Regions from separate parts of the Homo sapiens genome. Here all the other regions are linked to region 3. Evidence: promoter capture Hi-C in 16 types of primary human blood cells and fetal thymus (Javierre and others, 2016). All regions are on one chromosome and are shown on one strand. The core of a region is centred on a gene start or on the middle of the fragment in contact, and the rest is flanking DNA. Distances in the headings are between cores, read along the strand shown. Region 1 overlaps ABCA13 (ATP binding cassette subfamily A member 13). Region 2 overlaps ABCA13 (ATP binding cassette subfamily A member 13). Region 3 holds the start of VWC2 (von Willebrand factor C domain containing 2).

What was found. The method cuts DNA at HindIII sites, captures the fragments that hold promoters and counts their contacts. A CHiCAGO score of 5 or more calls a contact.
Region 1: a contact is called between a fragment that was not itself captured here and the fragment with the promoter of VWC2 in region 3, in 1 of 17 cell types (M2 macrophages). The highest score is 7.3, in M2 macrophages.
Region 2: a fragment that was not itself captured here is called in contact with the fragment with the promoter of VWC2 in region 3 in 1 of 17 cell types (M0 macrophages); the score reaches 5.3 in M0 macrophages.

The regions. Positions count from the first base shown.
Region 1 is chr7:48,284,214-48,288,528 of GRCh38, reverse strand. It overlaps ABCA13 (ATP binding cassette subfamily A member 13), which reads right to left. Exons shown (of 62, transcript NM_152701.5): 20 at 451-569. Among named protein-coding and RNA genes, the nearest start is that of ABCA13, 110 kb to the right of the region's middle. The HindIII fragment of the contact is 4,638 bases long and covers 1-4,253 here.
Region 2 is chr7:48,308,126-48,312,481 of GRCh38, reverse strand. It overlaps ABCA13 (ATP binding cassette subfamily A member 13), which reads right to left. Exons shown (of 62, transcript NM_152701.5): 24 at 2,341-2,535. Among named protein-coding and RNA genes, the nearest start is that of ABCA13, 140 kb to the right of the region's middle. The HindIII fragment of the contact is 1,428 bases long and covers 1,583-3,010 here.
Region 3 is chr7:49,770,928-49,775,046 of GRCh38, reverse strand. VWC2 (von Willebrand factor C domain containing 2) reads right to left here and starts at 1,409. Exons shown (of 4, transcript NM_198570.5): 1 at 934-1,409. The HindIII fragment of the contact is 1,969 bases long and covers 227-2,195 here.

The DNA of each region.
Region 1 (4,315 bases), core at 685-3,184, 1.5 Mb after region 3:
ACAAGACTACATAGTATTTCCATCATGTGGATACAACAAAAGCAAATCATCTCAGGAAGAGAGATAACAGTAAAACATACTAAAATAATTAGGAAGTGATGAATCTTGAGTAATTATTACTTGTGTTTCTAACATGATTTATTTCATCATAAGTTTATATAATTTATTTATAATGATGACATCTATGTTTAACAACCAGCTTGCAAAATTCCTGAAAATTTAACAATCCGATCTCTCAACTCAGTGCCACTCAACCCAGCACACCACTGGGAGAGGCCAAGAGGGAGGAAGGGTGAGCAGTCATTCTGCAAGCCCAGCTTGCAACAAGACTGTGTATGACACCATTGCTGTAGTTATAAGAACGAAGCAGCAAGTTTGAATAACTGGACTGCCTTGCAAGGGCCAATAGTCATGAACATGAAATTCTCTGAAATATTAAAGACGACAAACCTGGAAGTGGTCCTGCGCCAAAGTGACCCCTTGTATAGCAGATAAAATGAGATGCCTTATCCCATTTTGCTTGCAACTCAGAGTAGCACACAAAATGTCCTTGGTCCAGGAAGGGTTTTCTGCCAGAGGAAACACACAGAGAAATAATTAATAGACAGTCCTCTCCTGAACTAGCCACTCTCACAAAATCACTTTTTAAAGATTCAAAGTGATACAAATTCCTAAACATTTCTTAAATCATCAAGATGAACATTCAGATGATGAGGGTAAAGCTGTGCCTTTTGAGTTCCAAATGTAATAAAATAAAGATTTTGCTTTTCTGGGCCTAATTGATTTTGTAAATATTAATTATCTCTACCTCCTCAAACTGGCTCCTTTCCCTGTATCCCCTACAAGTGGGGTACCCATTCACCCCAGTTTGCCCAGGACAGACTTGCTTTTCACCTATTCTTGCATGGTTATGAACAGTGCCCTCTGTCATTCTCAAAAGTGCCCCAGTTTGAAGGATGAATTACACACTGTCTATGTGTGGTCTTCTCCATGCCCCATGCCTCACAAGTCACTTCCTGGAAGCCAGTCATGACTCTCCTCCCCCTGGTCCTCACAGCCAACCAACCTCCCCATCTGCTCAGCATGACCTCCCAATGTCTCTCCATCTGTGCGTCTGTCCAGCACCCATAGATCACGCCCAGGAAACTGCTGTGCTCTTAACAGTCCCACTCCCACCTCACCCTTCCAATCTGCCTTACGCTCTGATCCACAAGGCTCTTCCCCAAAGGAGATCCCCCATTACAGGAATCTGTGCAAAGGCTCCATGTTGCATCCAATGTCTTTCCGCAGCCTCAGGTGCCTCCACCTCTCTGCAGTCATGCCCTATGTCCCTCCTGTCTCCTCAAGGCCATCAGATACAAGGCATCACTCTCCCTTCCTGAACCTACGTATCTTTTAGAGTTCTGCCTCCAGACACCCACCTTTCCCAGGCTGAGCAAAGCCCCTCCCCTCCCTGCTGCGCAGATGCCTGTGTGCTCACCTCCCACCGCACGATAAATCCATCTGCACAAGACCTGCCACGGGCAAATTTTCTTATCACTGCCTTCCTGTCATTGTGGCACCTAGCACAGGGCTTTGTACCTCCTAGATGCTTGGTCATGACAGAAAATAAAATACATTTTTATAAGAAATAAAATCTTTTTTTAATTAGAAAAAAAAATGTTATCCTGACTCTTAAATTATGAATAATAAATTGTTTCTCAAAAGTCCTTTATAAAAAGTTCTGAGCCAGGCACGGTGGCTCACGCCTGTAATCCCAGCACTTTGGGAGGCCGTGTTGGGCAGATCACGAGGTCAGGAGATCGAGACCATCCTGGCCAATGTGGTAAAACCCCGTCTCTACTAAAAATACAAAAATTAACCGGGCATGGTGGCGGGCACCTGTAATCCCAGCTACTCAGGAGGCTGAGGCATGAGAATTGCTTGAACCCAGGAGGTAGAGGTTGCAATGAGCTGAGGTCGCACCACTGCACTCCAGCCTGGGCGACAGAGCGAGACTCTGTCTGAAAAAAGGAAGGAAGGAAGGAAGGAAGGAAGGAAGGGAAAAAACAGTTCCAGCATATTACTAAGTGAAAGAAGCCCATCTGAAAAGGCTACATATTGTATGATTTCAACTCAATGACGTGCTGGAAAAGACAAAAACTATGGAGACAGTAAAAAGATCCGTGGTTGCTAGGGGCTAGAGGGGTGGGAGAGATGAATGGGCAGAGCACAGAGGATTTTTCAGGCAGTAAAACCCTGTGTGTGATACTGTAACACTGGATGTATGTCATTATATGCTTGTCCTAACCCATAGAATGACAACACCAAGAGTGAAGCCCAATGTGAACTGTGGACTCGGAATGATGCTGTGTCAGTGTGGGTTCATCAATTGTAACAAATGTGCCACTCTGATAATGAGGGAGGCTATGGTGGGGAAGGGAGTATATGGGAAATCCCTGCACCTTCCATTCAAGGTTGCTGCGAATCTAAAACTACTCTAAAATATAAAATTTATTAATTACTAAAACAGTTTTCAACCACATAAAATGCAGAGTAGACACAATATATCCAAAGTCATGCTTTCCAGAAGCAACCCACCTTGATGCCTTATTTGTTTTTCTTTTCTCATTAATCTTATTTTACTAATTTCAAAGACAGGTATCTTTATTGTAGGAAATATAAAATGTGTCACTTAAGTAATCTCTTATTAAAATTTGAAATGAAGGTAATAATGTGCTGTTATATATCACAGCACTTATCTTTAAGCATAAACATATCCTCTGGTCTCGGGAAGACACAATAATGTGTTTATAAGTTATGTTGTTCAAACCTAAAAGAGCAGAGAATGCACCCTGAAAAAGCTGATGTAATGTATGGCATCAGGCAAGCTGTGGGCTGTGTCAGCCCCTTGCTTCCTCAATGTAAAATGACAACGTGGAGTCGACAGTGACCAAGCCCAGCATTCCTGCAAGGTTAGGTCAGGGATGATATGATCATGGGATGCAGTGCTGGGCTGTCAGGCCATCTGGCCTCCATGTGCCTCACATCTAACACGTCTTGAAGCCTGCCCTCAAAGGCACCACCCTCAAGGACACTTGACAACTGTCTCGACACTAACAAGAGCTGGTTTTGAGCCTTGACTCCTCCAACTTTCCCGGGTACCCTCTTTCTCCACCTCTCATTGCCTCTCCCAATCCCTGGCTCCAGCCCTTCCTACTTGCTGTGGCCCCTCTTCTTGGCTCCAAGGACACATTCAGACCCACTCTGGCTTTCCAGATCTGCCAGCGCTCTCTGGACCCCTTTCCTCTCCTCCCTTCAGCCCCATGGACCCTCTCAGGTCTCTTCAACTGGAAATGGGCTCTGACTGCTTCACTCTGAAACCCTGGGAAACTCACTCTCACTCTCTGGGCCTCAATTCGTCAATTAGGGAAACTGGAAGATTAAAGTAGCTGCCCACTGAGGCTCCTTCCGTTGCATGAGCTCTCCTGCATTGTCCTTGGCATCTTTAAAGCACTAGATCAGGAGAAGGAAAGTTGTCACTTTCCTCCTGGAGATACTGAACTCAACTCTGTGATATGACGAAAATATAGTGCATTTTCAGCAACAATAATAATAACAGATCTTATTCTTGTTCCCTTTATATGATGGGAGAGGAGGGGCTATTTGCCCACATTGGTCAATTCCACCCCATCCCTTTAACTTTATGGGATCTGTCACTGCCCTCCTATTCTACAGGATGGAGTAACAATTCAATAAGGACAGTGGGGTGGCAGTTTAAATGTTAGTTATGCTTGAGTTTCCTTGAAATAAAATATAAAAATTAAAAATTAATTATCTGTTACTAATGTAATCTCAAGTATGCTATATTAATTTAGCAGCTGCAATACAGAATGGCAAAATAAATATAAATTCATACATTAATGAATGTTTAATTCATTTAAAAACCATTATATTAGCTGACTGTGAAATGTCCAGATAATTGTGTCTTCAAACGTGGCTGAATTCAATATGGAAGATAAGCATTCAAGAACGAGGAAGAAGTTTGATTTGAATTTTACCTGAGCACACTTCCAAATGCTGAAATCATGTACCAACCATCCTAACTTGTACTTAGATTGTAACACTTTACTGATTTCTATTTGACAACAGAAAGCAATATTCCTAATCACCAATGTTCATAACATCTAATTGGAAATACAGATTATCTTAAAAGAAAAAAAAACATGCAAAACCCCTACACAGCAGTTGGGGTTTCATTTTTAAATCAAGCTTGTCCCACTTCTCCCTCTGTTTCTTACTCCTTTTCCATGTTTCTTAGACCCAATGACCAATC
Region 2 (4,356 bases), core at 1,047-3,546, 1.5 Mb after region 3:
TGAAATGCTCTGTATTTTACATGATTTTTTTTTTTCATATTCTCAGTTCTACACTGGAGGCAAGGCTTTTCTTCTGTCTTGATCTTTCATGTAGCTACTGGGCATAAAATAGCAACAGGAAATATTAGTTGCTCAATAAATATTTGTTGGATGAATGGATAAATGAGGAAATGCCAGCTCTTCGCACAGAGCAGGGAAAATCACAGCTAATTTCCACTGTCTGTCATTTGGATATTGAATTTTCTGTTTTCCAGGCTGGGGCAGAGGAACCCAGTTGTCACTGCTTCTTATTTTTGCTCATTAGTGTTTTAGCTGTTAGCTCTGCAGATGACTTTCAGGGCTCCGGGATCACAGCTCCATCCTTCACAGAGGCACTCTGCTTATAATGACAGAATTCTGTCCATTCATACTATAGAGACAACTCTAGCAGGAGAAATGGTGTGTAGCTTTTGTCACTTCTTCTACTCATCTTTCTAATTGCAGCTGCCCTTTAAAAAAAAGTGGCACACAGTGACTGGCCCCTGACTTATGGTGGGGAGTGACAGGGATCCAGCGCAGCTCCAAGAGACCAGATTGATGTGCCGAATTAATATAGCAAACTGTGCTTTGCTGAAGGCTTCAGAAATTCATTGTCAGCTGAGTGAATCAGAAAGTACATGGACTTGGGAATGAGCTGCACCTGCACGTGGCCCTCACATGGAGGTCGGGCTGCCCTAACATCCTGAGCCATATCTTGTATTTAATCAACTTTCATAGAGCCCTTCATATAGAAGGTACCTGATAAATAAGAGCTGTTGTTATTAATGATGATGTCATTTTCATTGTGTCTGGGAGACTGAATCCAACCCACTATCTTATCCTTCAAAGAAATCTTGGTACAGATGATGGCCCTTGTCACAGTAATTATGTGGGCCTCTACAAGCACTTACTTCAAATCGGGGACCTTTGTGCACATAACAAAGTGGCCACTAAAGTAGCATCGTGCCAATGGGAGCTCTGTTTCCCAAAAGGCAAACTGTAAAGTTGGAAGAGAGGCTGTGGTGAGCAAATGCAGAGCTAAACCATAAGCATGTTAGCGAAAAATACGAATTCCACCAAGATAGAGGTGGGTTTGCAAATTATGGGGATGCAAGAAATGTTTATTCTCCTCCTTATGGGTTTAAAATGTAATCATTCTGAAAACAAATATTTGTTCTTGGAGTGTGTGTGTGTGGGTGTGTGTGTGTTCATTCCAACATTTACTCCCTGGACTCTTGAAGTAATAGAAACTAAGGAAATCATGCGTGGCTGAAATGGCAAATCTACCCTTTGCTGACTATAAAACTGTTCACCCAAACTCAGGGTGCCTACAGCCACCTTACCATAGTACAAACCCTGCAGCCTCTCTAATGAACCCAGAGGTTGTGAAATACTTCCCTAAAGGGAAAACAATGGTACTTGGAGCAAGATCAGTGCCTAAGGGTAAGAGGGGAAGCTTCTGGAAACTTAAGTAAAGATTCAAACAGTAGAGGCCAGAAGGAGGGGAAGCTTCTGGAAACTTAAGTAAAGATTCAAACAGTAGAGGCCAGAAGGAGGAGAAGCTTCTGGAAGGGGCAGCTTGAGAGCAGTGAGCTGTGGTTTGGAGCTAGGTTGCCCCTACATGGGTTCTGGGCCCGTCCGGAAAGTGCTGGGCCTGGGCTTGCCCCAGCTCCTCCTCACTTCCCACTCTCCACTCTCTCCTGCAGACTTCATCATCTTTAGCTTCCTCCAGTCCCTCCCTGCCCTCACACTGCTGCTTGTCAGAGGATCATGCTTGTCAGAGCCGGCACACACAGGGGATTGGGCTTCCTGTGCTGCCCACCCCTCCACATTCTCTCCAGGGCAGGCCCTGGCAGAGCTGGATGCTTCCCGCTGACAGATAGGGCCACCGTGCAGGGAGCAGCACCTAACTCGGGCCGCTCAGGAGTGGACCATGCACAATCCCAGCCTCCTCAAACATGCTCCAGGGAGGTGGCCCTTACAGAGGAGAGAACACCTGGCATTAGGAAGCGGTGCTGTGTTTTTGCAGTGGGTCCTTCCACAATGAGCATGGAGATCACCACCAACTCTGTCCCAATGCCCTGACACTTATTTCCAAGGACCCCCTGAAGGGTCTCCTGAACATCCCTTTATTACAACAAAGTCTTCTTGAGCCCCACCTTGGATTCAGCAAACAGGTGACACCAGAGGCTGGTGGAGACCACTGCAGAGTGGCCAGGTGCTGATCTCCCACTGCCGCACCCCTAGGACTACTGTACTTATCTGCAGCCACCACAGCAGAGTCCTGCAGAGGACTGCCCCCAGCCAGCATGCTCTCCATACCTTGTAAATGAAAGCTCGCACATCCAAGTTTCGACTCAGCAACACAATCAGAGAATACACTTTTGACCCTGGCAGGCTACAGAGTTCCTCCGCTGCGATCCAAGATTTTTCCCCTTTGGGAAATGTCAGCAGGAGATGAAGGATTTCCTGATCACACTTTCCAGACAGAGCTACGGTGAGGGCACTGAAGAGAACCTGTTTCAAAGCACAGAGATTAGAGGTGAGTATACCTATGACGTCATGTGCTTCACCACCTCAGACCGGAGCTTCATCGGCAGGGAGTCGCCCAAGAGTGGATTTCCCAACTCCCGGGACTGACCTGCAGATGCGGGGAGCCCAAACTGGGGTTCGATTCTCAACATTTTGATGGAAATGTTTCTGAAGTGCGCACATCATTCTCTGACTTCTTATAAAATTTGCCCTCGCTTGAGGTCTTTGGATCACCCTTCTGAAACTCTGTCCCTCTGCTCTCCACGAGGCTCACTCTGAATGCCCACCAAGCCCCCACCCTCCGATGCCACCCCCGTAGTTAGCATCTGTGTCTCGTTTGTCTGATATTAAGTCTTACCCTTGGCTTTCAGTTTATCAGCTTCCACTTTTCACCGTCATCAGTGTGAAGCTGATATTTTTTGCTCCTTCATTTTTAGATTGAAAACAGGATTACCAAGCTTGTTATATATTTTTTTAAAGCAAGTACACTCAGAAGGAGGCACTGAGGACAACTTATATTAGTCTCTAGTTTATTACTATCATGCATCGCAATTAAAGGCTTTGACACACCTCTTCATTTGGGTATGCTTTTCAGTTAAGGACATTTGTGATATGCCAAATTACAAAGCAAAATAAAACAAAAACCATACTTCCTGCTCCATGTTTTTGCTCCTGATGGGTATGATTGCTGTGAAACATTCAGGCCAACTGAGGCCGAAGTGCATGAACCTATGTGAATAGGAACCATGCTCTCTGAAGAAGAGCACGGAGAACTCAACAGATGCCATAAAATGTTCCCAAAATACAGTAAGATATAAATAATGGTGTAGTAGTCAGGGTCCTCCAGAGAAACAGAACCAAGAGAATGTGTGTGTGTGTGTGTGTGTGTGTGTGTGTGCAGTCATGTGTCTCATAATGACAAGGATACATTTGGGAAATGCACCATTGGGTAATTGTTTAATTGTGTGAACATCATAGTGTGCACTTACAGCATCCTAGATGATACAGCCTCCTACATACCTTGGCTATAGGGTATGGTCTATTGCTCCTAGACTACAAACCTGTACAGCGTGTCACTGTACTGAATCCTGTAGGCAGTTGTCACACAGTGGTAAGTATTTGTGTGGCTGAACATATCTAAACATAGAAAAGGTACAGTAAAAAGGTACAGTAAAAATACAGTAGTATAATCTCATGGGACCACCATCCTATATGGGGTCCATTGTTGACCAAAATATCGCTATCTGGTACATGATGACAAACCACATATACGGTGGTAGTCCCATAAGATTATAATGGAGATGAAAAATATGATTATAATGGAGATGAAAAAATTCCTATCTTCTAGTGACATCAGCCATTGTAGTGTTGTAGCCTGGCGTATTATTCAAGTGTTTGTGGCAGTGCCGGTGTAAACAAAACTGCTGCACTCCCATTCATAGCAAAAGTATCACACACACAATTATGTACAGTACATAATAGTGACAAGGATAATAAATGACTATATTACTGGTTTATGTACTAACTATACTATATTATCATTATTTTAGAGTATACTCTTTCTAGTTATTAAAAAAAATTTAACTGTAAAACAGCCACAGGCAAGTCCCTCAGGAGGTATCCAGAAGAAGGCATTGTTATCACAGGAGACGACAGCTCTACGCATGTTATTGCCCCTGAAGACCGCCCAGTGGGACAAGCTGTGGAAGTGGAAGACAGTGGTATTCATGATCCTGACCTCATGTAGGCCTAGACTAGACTGTGTGTTTGTGTCTTAATTTTTAAAAATACGATTTTAAAAGTTAA
Region 3 (4,119 bases), core at 160-2,659:
GCGAGCCAGGCCCGCGCCCCCCTGCAAAGCTCTGCCTTGAACCACGTAATTCAGGCACCCAGGGTGTCCCTCCCTAGGTCCTGGCCACATTTCCCGAAGGTTATTAAATGGAGAATTCAGCAGTGGAGTTAGAGACGGACGAATGTACAGGAAGATAAGAGGGAAACTCTTCCTCATTTGCTTTAGGGGGTTGTGCTGGGAAAATGCGGGGAGGTTAAACAAAGCTTCTCCTAGGACTCCACGATTCATTTCTAACAACTTCTTAAAAGACTCCCGTCTCGGGAGCAGACGCCCCCTCCCCGCTCTCTAAGCCCCGCTGCATGAAAGGATGCCCTCGGCCCCTTGCCAGAGGGCCGGGTCGGGGATTCCCGGGGCTTCAGCTCCTCTGCCGGCCCGCCCCTCCGAGCCTTGGGAGCCAGGTCGCCGGCCGCAGCGCTCAGTCTTGTAGTGTCCTGGCTGCGGAGCAGAAGCGCCCGGGCAGCACCAAGGTGTGCAGTGCGGGAGGCTGGGGCCCCAGGGCGCAGAGTGGGCGCGAGACCCTCCTACTCGCTGGATCCCGGCCAGCCTTTCTGGATTCCAAAGTTTCTGCCGCCCAAAGGGGCTGGGAGAGCCCGAGACGCCGCAGGACACCGGCAATCCAGCCTCTCTCCGCCTCACTCCCCGAACGCCCCCACTCTGCGCACTCCGGTGCGTCTGTCCCCTCCCCCTCAGCCCTCCTCCCTGAGGGCTCCGGACGTGCCCGGCCCTGCTGACCCCCTGCCCGGTCCCTGCCGACCTCAACACTGGGCGAAGCGCCCATATTCACAAACTTGGGCGGGGGAGGGGGTTCCTCCGGAGCAGCTGAGCGGCTGAACCCAGCTGGAGCGCGTCCGGCCGCGCGGGGACACCCAGCATGCACCCTCAGCCCTGAAGACCGGCGCCAAACCTACATACATGAGCGCAGGGCGCGGGCCGGACGCCGGGCTCGCAGCGGGCGCAGGGGTAGCAGCGGCGGGCGCGGGCCCGGGTTGCCAGCGCCCATCCTGGGCCGGCCGGCGACCCGCGTGGGGCGGACCACTAACAGCCCAGCCCCACCTGCGCGCTCCGCCTGGCGCGCACACCGGGCTAGGGCGTCTCTGGGGAGTCGCTCATCGCGCTGTCAGCTGCCGGTAGTCGCGGCCCCAACTCGCGTCAGTGCCCGCGTCGCCCTCAGTCGCTCATCCTCCGGCCTCGTCCCCGCTTCTCCGAGACCAAGCGCGCCCCGGGGGCCACCCTGGCGCCGCCTCGCTCCTCTCCGCGGAGGGGTTCGGGGAGCTCTCCAGACCCGGCAGCCGGAATGTCTGGGCAGCCGTGGCGCGTCGGAGGGAAAAGAGAAGCCCGGAGCGCGGCCGGCGCGCGAGTGGCACCGAGGCCAGCATGGGAGCTAGCGCGCCCGCCTCCCGCCTCCCCCTGCCGCAGCCGCCTCCGCCCGGCTCCCGTTCCGCTCCCTCCTCTGCTGCCCCCGCTCTGGAGGCCCCGCCTTGGCCCGCGCTGCCCCGGGGGAGGCCCTCGCGCTGCCCCCGGAGAGGCCCTACCGCCGCACCCGCTCCCTTTGCTGCGCCGGACCAACCTGTCACTCGTCCGCGCGGCCGCGTCCCCACCTCCGCAGCCGGCCGCAGACCCTGCCAGGGCTGCCATTCTCCAGTCGAGTCATTCACTTTGCGCTGGACCTTTCATCTTGGCTTTTCTCTTTTCTTTAATTTCTTCCTTCCTAATTGGCCCCCTCTGGCTTTCCTCTTTGTGGACAGCTTGTTTCAGCTACTGTGTTCAGATTGGGATTCGAAGGCCGTGTTAGTTTAGCAGACTGTTGAGACTTTCTCGTCTTTGCATTCAGAAACCCAGAGAAATAGACGTTTACGAGTAAGAAACGTAAAAATCTCAAGCGCGAACTTTCTGAATCTCTGCCAATCTCTCCCCGCTCCCATCTTCCTCTTTCTGCCTGCTCTCTCTTCTACTACAAATAGAAACCTGTTTCCTAACTTTGCTAGAATCCTCAACTGTTAAGCAGAGGCCCGGTTGTTTTTACTCTTTGATCTTGTGTAAACGAGAAAACGTCAATAGTACCTGTTCAAATTAATCCCCGAAATTGAATTTTCATGGAAATGGCCCATGGCAGTGGTTCCCACTCACGGCATTTTAGAATCCCTGAAAGTGCTCGGACGGTAAACAGATAAGCTTCCCTGCAAGGTCAGGCGCTCTGGCTGGTGGGAACTGGGGAGGCTGGTTTGGGACACAGTTATGTCTATCTTTTAATAGTATAGACAAACAAATCTTAGCTGAGGTGCTAGGGAGCCCTCCTTGAAAGCCTGAGAAGGCTGCCCCTCCACCCCCTCCAACACATACACAACCAACAGGGCTGGATGGAGGATTTCTTTCTCTCTCTCTCTCTCTTTTTTTTTTTTTTCAGACGGAGTCTCGCTCTGTGGCCTAGCCTGGAGCGCAGTGGCGCGATCTCCACTTACTGCAAGCTCGATTCCCGGGTTCATGCCTTTCTGCCGCCTCAGCCTCCTGAGTAGCTGGGACTACAGTCGTCCGCCATCACCCCCAGCTAATTTTGTTTTTGTATTTTTAGTGAGACGGGGTTTCACCATGTTGGACATGATGGTCTCGATCTCCGGACCTCGTGATCCTCCTGCCTCGGTCTCCCAAAATGCTGGTGAGCCACCGCGCCTGGCCTGGATGGAGGATTTCTATGTACAGGATGATTTGAGCCCTTCTGCTGTTTCAGTTCTCACTCTCATTTTTCCTTTTTTTTTTTTTTTTAATGTTTTAGAGACACGATCTCACTTTGTCACCCAGGCTTCAGTGCAGTGGCATGATCACGGCCCACTGCAGCCTCAAACTCCTGCCTCAGACTCCGGAGGAGCTGGGTGTACAGGTCACCACACAGGGCTAATTTTTTGTTTGTTTGTTTTGTTTTGTTTCGTTTAGGTTTTTTCTTTTGTTTTTTTTTTGTTTTTTTTTTTTGGTAGAGATGGGATCTTGCTTTGTTGCCCAGGCTTGTCTTGAACTCCTGGCCTCAAATGATCCACCCGGCCTCTCAAAGTGCTGGGATTACAGGTGTGAGCCACCACACTCGGCCCTTTCGTTTCTTGTTACCCTCAGAAAAGAGACAGGCCACATTTGCTGTGGCTGCAGCTGCCTACCCACCCACCTGCCTCTCATCACATGCTCTAATCAGTTATGGCTTCTGTGTCTTTATGATGCTCTAATCCAAATATCACACCTTTCACAACACCACCAAAATAAAAACACGGCTCGAGGTGTGATCATATGTAATGTGCAAAATGGGCCCTCGGTTCTATAAAATCAAGTGCTTTTATAGCATTGGTTAGGCTACAAATTTTGTTATTTGACTTATTAGCTAATTCTGTTCTTGTCATTAAACATCCTGTTTGTTTTGTTTTGCCAACAGTACTCTCATGTGGTTACGATGGGGTAGCCCCAAACACATGTGACTAATAAGAACGAAACAGTAACATTATGTGTCCAGGATTCTAACTGAAAAATTGATTGGGGGCTCAGCTGAGGAAATAATGATGTCCCTTTATTAATCCCACCTCAATCACCGGTCTCTCTGAATCAGAAACTTCTTGTCCCAGCCAGCTGCTTCCAGTAGAGAGCCATGAATATGAGATAGCCAAGTTTTCAAGAAGAGGCCTGACAAAACTGAGGATGAATTAAGTGACCAAGTGTCCAAATGGCTTTGTTCTGTTAGATATTCTCAGAGATAGTGTTACAGGCCTGATAGAATGAGGGAGGAAAGCAGTTTCCAAGGGATTGCTGTCCTTTGTGAAGAAGAGCAATACCCATGCAGCTTGATGAGCTGAGTAATTCGAGAAAATATAGGGGACTTTGCAGGCGTTGAAGGAATATACAATTTATTTATTGCCAGTGCAATGAATTGTTGCGATTAACTTTTCTTCTTTCCTTCCTTCTTTGTTCCTTTCTTTCCTTCCTTCCTTCCCTTTGCCCTCCTTCTCCCCTTTCTCCCTCCCTCCTCCGTCTCTCTCCTTTTCCTCTTTCTCTCCCTCATTTCTTTCCTTCTTTCCTTTATTCCCTCCCTCCCTCTTTCCTTTCTTCCTTTCCACTTATTTTCCT